Linked DNA regions of Homo sapiens: region 2 is linked to region 1. The links are contacts of gene promoters, found by promoter capture Hi-C in blood cells and fetal thymus (Javierre and others, 2016). All regions are on one chromosome and are shown on one strand. The core of a region is centred on a gene start or on the middle of the fragment in contact, and the rest is flanking DNA. Distances in the headings are between cores, read along the strand shown. Region 1 holds the start of GUCY1B1 (guanylate cyclase 1 soluble subunit beta 1). Region 2 overlaps GUCY1A1 (guanylate cyclase 1 soluble subunit alpha 1).

Evidence for each region. The method cuts DNA at HindIII sites, captures the fragments that hold promoters and counts their contacts. A CHiCAGO score of 5 or more calls a contact.
Region 2: a contact is called between a fragment that was not itself captured here and the fragment with the promoter of GUCY1B1 in region 1, in 1 of 17 cell types (megakaryocytes). The highest score is 5.1, in megakaryocytes.

The regions. Positions count from the first base shown.
Region 1 is chr4:155,757,500-155,760,816 of GRCh38, forward strand. It overlaps GUCY1B1 (guanylate cyclase 1 soluble subunit beta 1), which reads left to right and starts at 1,522. Exons shown (of 14, transcript NM_000857.5): 1 at 1,522-1,644; 2 at 2,288-2,361. The coding sequence starts at 1,642. LOC105377506 (a long non-coding RNA gene) reads right to left here and starts at 916. Exons shown (of 8, transcript XR_007058484.1): 1 at 691-916. RefSeq lists silencers at 1,700-1,849, 2,300-2,569. The HindIII fragment of the contact is 7,462 bases long and covers 1-3,317 here.
Region 2 is chr4:155,702,780-155,706,096 of GRCh38, forward strand. It overlaps GUCY1A1 (guanylate cyclase 1 soluble subunit alpha 1), which reads left to right. Exons shown (of 10, transcript NM_001130682.3): 4 at 1,153-1,214. Among named protein-coding and RNA genes, the nearest start is that of GUCY1A1, 38 kb to the left of the region's middle. The HindIII fragment of the contact is 2,697 bases long and covers 394-3,090 here.

The sequences.
Region 1 (3,317 bases), core at 272-2,771:
ACAGACGATAGCCATATCAACACTTCCTGTGTTTCCTCCCAAACCATTATTCTTACAGCAACATGTATGTGCCTGTGTTATTACCCACATAGCACCTTACTGTATACTAACTCTAAAAAATGGAAAATGATTACATTCTTGTGGTGTTTTGTAAACCTGACAATACTTTTCTGCATCATCATTTTCTAGTCACCCTCCTGCTTTTTCATGGTTGTTTAATGTGCCATTTTAATGGTTCAAAATTAGTGGTTAATTGTTGTTAAATAATGATTAATGTTTTAATAGTTGTTTAAAACAAGGTGTTAGATTGTATGAAAGGCTGTAATCTATTTACTCATTCCACCAATAATGGAAATTTTTAAAGTAATTTGTTGTTTTGTTTGTTTGCTACATGCCACTATTTCTGTATCAGTTTCCTTCATCATAGCTCTCTCGGTGCTGATGTCAGCACAATCTTATTGTTTTGACATTTTTCTCTAACCATATTGAGACTGTTCTCACAACAAAATATGCACATCTTAAAATACCATCTGGCTTCTCAGGTCCACTTGAGACTGGTGACCTCACTTTTGACCTTGCCCTAAAAGTCAACTGGAGTCCATATACCTCAGGTACAAACAGCTTTAATAAGCTGCCACTTCCTGTTCCTCTCATCTTCTCTCTATGGCAGGACTCAGAGCATTAACTAACCTAAGGGCCTGGTAGAATGTAAGCTGGAGGTAGAGTAGTTAAAGTCTGTGCATTTTGTACTGGTCATTTTCCAGTTCGTCTGTTGCTAAGAAACAGCAACAGAGGCCCGCTCTAGAGGGTTACAAACTCCCTGGAATTATGGCTCCCGGACATGGTGTAGGGAAAGGTGTCCCACAGGGATCAAGCCTAGAATATCGCTGGATCTTGTACAGTTTAGTAAAGGGCAGGACTGGATTTAACATAACGTCCACCAAACTACATTACTGAAAATTTTTGGTGCTTCACTCAACTAGTCTCATTGACTAGAAGTGAAAATATGTTTTTCTCAATATTACCAGCTTTAAATTTGCCATAAACTGTTGTGGGACCAAGCCACAGAGGAAATGTTTTTCCGCTAGACAAAGATAAGCATGAGGATGCCAGCAACAGAGGATATTCCTTTTAAGGTCTGTCCATTGCAAAGTACACACGTACACGCTCACACAACAAACACGCCCTGTTCCCTTTTGCTTGTGTTAACCACTGAGGGCAGATCTCTGAATAATAATACATTTAGTGGGTCCACAAGAGCTGCATTTCCTCTGCTCCAGAATTCATGCAAGGAGCACGGCTGGGGCTTCTCCACTGTCATTGTTATGGCCTCAAATGAAGGCCTTGTCACCAGGCGGGGGCGGGAAGGCACTGGAGCGCAGCAGCATTGAGAGCATCCGAATTCCCTCCTCTGTCCCTGATTGGTTGAAGAACTGGGGAGCACCGACCAGCCCCCTGCGGCTCGACTCGCCATTGGCTGGGAAGAGGTGGCAATCAGGGCGGGCCAAGGCGGCTGTTCTCGCTCCAGCTCGATGCTGCCTCCCCGGCCCGGTTGCGCTGTAGCCGCTGCCGCCTCTGCCTGGGTCCCTTCGGCCGTACCTCTGCGTGGGGGCTGCCTCCCCGGCTCCCGGTGCAGACACCATGGTAAGTGCTCTCAGCCGGGTGCGGCCCGAACCTCACCCCTCCTCGGCCGGCCTGGCAGCGAGGGAACTGGCCGCGCAGCCGGAGCTTGGCTCGGGGGCCCTGGGCGCTCACTGCCGGCCACGGGAGCAGCCTCACTCCTTGCCCGCGCCCAGTCAGGGGAGGTGGGAACGCCGCGAGTCGTGGCGGGGGCGATCGGTGCCTTTGCTTCCCAGGCGGGTTTGCCGCTCCACACCGCAGCTTCCTGAGCTCGGGAAGGGGAGGTGCGGCGGAGGCGTGGGGTCTTCCCGGCTCTGGCCGGCCCCACCAGTGTGGGAGGCTGAGCGCCAGCGGAAGGGAAGGCTCCGGGTTCGCGTCCCCGCGCTGCCCCCGATGCCCAGCCTCTCCCGGAGCGGTGACAGGTGAGGAGGGTGGGAAGATAGCGTGGGGGTGGGGCGGATGGTGACGGGGAGAATCCACCAGGGATTGGGGGGTTGCGCCCCCACGATCCGACTCCTTTAGTGCATAGTACCCCTAAGGGAGAGGAGTCAGGGGCGGGGTGAAAGGTTAAGCCAGCGCCATGGGAGCAGAGGCAGCAGCCTCGCCCCCAAGCCGCTTCTCAGGTACAGCGGGTCCCTGACGCTCAAGTCTCTCCCTGTCCCCGCAGTACGGATTTGTGAATCACGCCCTGGAGTTGCTGGTGATCCGCAATTACGGCCCCGAGGTGTGGGAAGACATCAAGTAAGTGGCCGGCTACCCTGGCTGTGGCCCAGGTCGGCGCCCAGTGTGGGAGGCCCCCCGCGCCTCGCCTGGTCCTCAGCCTGCTGGCCGGGTCGCGGGCGCGCATCCTTGGAGGTGCCTCCGCGCCTCGCTCCCGGCTCGCTGCAGCTGCGCTCCCACGCTCCGGGACTGGAACCAGGAGGGGAGGGGCGGCTGGGGCGGGGCTGCGAGGGCGAGAACCGCGGAAAGGAGCCCCTAGGGGTCACCACGGCTTCCCGACCCGGCCTGAGCGTGGGAACGCGCTGCCGGCGCTCCCAGGCTCAGCAGGCCGGGCAGCTCCCACGCGTGCAGAGCCCCGAGGGACCACACGGGCCTCCGCGAGGTTCCTGCGCCCGGAGGCCTTAGAAACAAACGGAAGACTTTGGCTCCTTTATGATTTACACACCTGGCGTAAGTTAGGCCTTTTTGGTATGCTGAAACACGCGGGAGATTATTTCTTGAGCAACAGTGAATTAAGCGCATTTATTCATTTTTAAATAAAGTGAAAATTGGAAGTTTTTTGTTTTCCCCAAATCCCACTGCCCACCCCCCCCGCCCCAACCCCTATCCCCCGTTTTTTTCTACTGTGTTGAAGACTTAACAGTTCTAGGAGGCATTCTACTTTCAGTCCTGGAGCTTTGAGCCCAGTACTGGGGATGTGAACGGAAATACCACACCCACCTGAGAGTTTAAACCTGTTGGAATGACTGATGGGTCAGCATGTCTGCAGGCAGGTTGACTATTTCACTCTAATAAAGTTGTCTCTCCTTTTTCCTCTCACTCTCAAAAAATTTGCATTTAACTTATGGTACAGCTGACCACCACCAACTAGCTACTCCAAAACCCTATTTATGGATTTTCATATTAGAGCAACAGTCAGACTATCACATTGTAACAAAGGTGGAAGGAAGGGTTTCCTGGGTGGGCAGATGGGAATA
Region 2 (3,317 bases), core at 492-2,991, 54 kb before region 1:
AACTCATGTCATTAAAACAGAACCTTGATCTATTTTGGTTTACTCCAGTACCTCACTTGACTGGTGGAAACTCTACAAGAGATATAAATAGTTTTTAAGGAAAAAGGAATTTCTTAACTTGGGACAGCAAAAAATTTTTCACTTTCCTCTGGGGAAACTATAGAAAGAATCAATGGTTCTATATATATAATATATAGTTTTATATATATCTCTATATATACACACATATATAGTGAGAGGGAGGTACATACATAGATACATATGATTTTTACATGGAATATATAAAAATGGACAACACTGCTTATCAATGCTCTACTTTCCACTTATTTATTAGAGACAATCAGCTGTTAAGATAAATTAATAGCTACTCAACATGTATTTATTAAGTATAAAAGCTTACATACAAATGTCTTGCAAAATAAGGAAACTCATGAAATTCTCAGAAATCAATAAAAGAAAATAAAACCATAAGTATTTGATGAGGATTATTAGTTCAAAGAAAGGAAATCAGTGTAAGCCAAGGTAAACCCAAGGCTCATTTCAAATAAATGATCAACTAACTTTGGTGACAGATTAGATTTAAGAGATCAAAAAAGGAAGAGACAGAGATAACTCCAGAGTTTGCTAGACAAGAAGATGATATGAATGTATAGTTAAGGGCAGAGAGTCACTGGGGCAGCTGGGTGTGGAGTTTGTGAAAGGAACAGAAATTTGCTTGGCTTGGTCCATGCTGAGATTGAAGTATTGGCCGCCCGTCCAGAGGGATTTCCTGACTCAGAGGAAGTGATGCCCATGGAATCCTATATTGCAGAAGACCTAACACTACCAAACTGAAATCTTCTGTTTGGGTTCACACTCAGCTCAACTATTCTGTGGCTGTCAGTGAGACCACCACCAAAGGCTAAACCTGTGGGCCACAACACATATCCAATCTCAGATTAGTCTCAGCACATTGCTTCCTCTCCAGTTTGAAAAACACATAGAAAATCACTTCCAGTTTCCAAAGTGAAAATTCATAACATTTATCATTCAAGCAATTGTATAATGTGCTTTATTCTCGAAAATAAATCTTCAGGATGCATTTTTAAATATATAATTCCAAACAAATTATTATATAAGGGAATGTTTAAAACATTTCTTTTGAACTTTCAGTTTGAACGGCTGAATGTTGCACTTCAGAGAACATTGGCAAAGCACAAAATAAAAGAAAGCAGGTAAGTCAAACCACTTTAGTTGTGTGAACCTCTTATTACAATGACTAATACTGCTACTAATGGCCAGCAGTTACTGAATGTGTCAGCCCTTTATTGAATCATTGTGGTATGTCAGAAACTGGACTTAGTACTTTAGCTGATACTAATTTCAAAGTAAGTGCATCTATTTATCACATTTTATAAATGATTAAACTCAGGTTTATATGAAGTATTTAGAATTTTATAGCCGTTTAAGGAAAAGACAGAGCTGGGGTTCGAGCCTGGGTTTTTCAGAGCCATTATTTTAAGCATGTAGTTATAAACTGCTGCTTTAACAAGCTCCTGTAAGGCCGATTCTTTTGTACTAATTGGTAACTTCTAAAATATTTAACAACAGGTAAGTCATGGATCCCAAACAATCAAGACTTCCTGCCTGAAGGATGCTGCCAAAGTTTTGAGCAGGGTCCCAGCAGGTACCCCATCCCCAACACACATCTCAACAACATGTTAATACTTTAGTATCTGCATCAGGAGGAGGTAGAAGGATCAAGTGCTTAAGAGGAGGGGGACTCAGGGTTCCGGGGGGTAGCAGCTGTTTATTAATCCTTAGGGAAGTGTTTCTGTATTCTCCTAACTAGTTTGGTTGCACTGCAGAACATCAGTTTGTTTATACTTTTTTTCTAGTATTCTTTGAAATTTTCCTTTAAAGCATTTCTGAAGAGGCTTAATATAAAGTTACTTTTTATTTTTTATTTTTTTTTTAGAAACAGGGTCTCACTCTGTCATCCAGGCTGAATGCAGTGGTGTGATCATAGCTCACTGCTGCCCAGAACTCCTGGGCTCAGGCCATCCTTCTGCCTCAGCCTCCCAAAAAACTGAGATTAAGGGCATGGACCTAAAGTTACTTTTTTAAAATTTATTTTTATTTTTTTGAGACAGGGTCTTGCTCTGTCGCCTAGGCTGGAGTGCAGTGCAATCTTGGCTCACTACAACCTCTGCCTCCCTGGCTCAAGCCATTTTCCCACATCAACCTCTCGAGCAGCTGGGACTACAGGCATGTGCCACCATGCTCACCTAATTTTTGTTTTGGTTTTTGTTTTGTAGAGATGGGGTTTCACCGTGTTGCTCAGGCTGGTCTCAAACTCATGAGCTCAAGCATTCACCCGCGTTGGCCTCCAAAACTGCTAGGATTACAGGCATGCGCCACTGCGCCTTGTCTCTAAAGTTACATTTTTTAAATCTGATTTATTTAGTGAATCAAATACAATTTAGCACATTTACTGCTGACAGAAAATGTAATAGGGGCCAGGCACGGTGGCAAATCCCAGCCCTTTGGGAGGTCAAGGTAGACAGATCACCTGCGGTCAGGAGTTCGAGACCAGACTGGCCAACATGGCGAAACCCCGTCTCTACTAAAAACACAAAAATTAGCCAGGCATGGTGGCAGATGCCTGTAATCCCAGCTAATCAGGCAGGAGAATGGCCTGAACCCAGGAGACAGAGGTTGCAGTGAGCCAAGATTGTGCCACTGCACTCCAGCCTGGGCGACAGAGTGAGACTCCATCTCAAAAAAAAAAAAAAAAAAAAGTAATAGGCCCCGTTTTTGATTCCCTGAAATTTCAAGGTTTATTTGGTCTATAAATAATAGAATAAATACTGGTGTTGAAATTTGCAGAACTGAACATTGGAGTTTTACAAACCAGCACTATTGTCAGGAATGTTTTAACAATTCATTCATCTGTCTCCTACTCATGAGTGATCATCTGCTCTGTGGATCATATGTGCTTGATTTTCCTTGCTGACTAGCTGGTCCCAGACTGCAGGCAGCAGGACCAAGCCAAGAAGGGGTCATGGACAGGTCCAGAAGGAAAGAGTGTGAATCTATGTGTCTGACAGAAGCTTTGTTTACACGAGTAACATGAGAAGCATTCCAGAACACCTCTGACCTTAATAACCAGTCAAGCTGATAAGATAGTCTTAAGTCTCTCACTGTGCTACTGTGTCTGTCTGCTTAAGTCCTTGGCAGCCAGTTTACTCAAAATTTATTCTCAGGGCTTTGTGTTCTGAATCGTTCCTACAGCTTCTTGCAATACTCAGTTATGATGTGTTTCCAGCAGTGTGCCT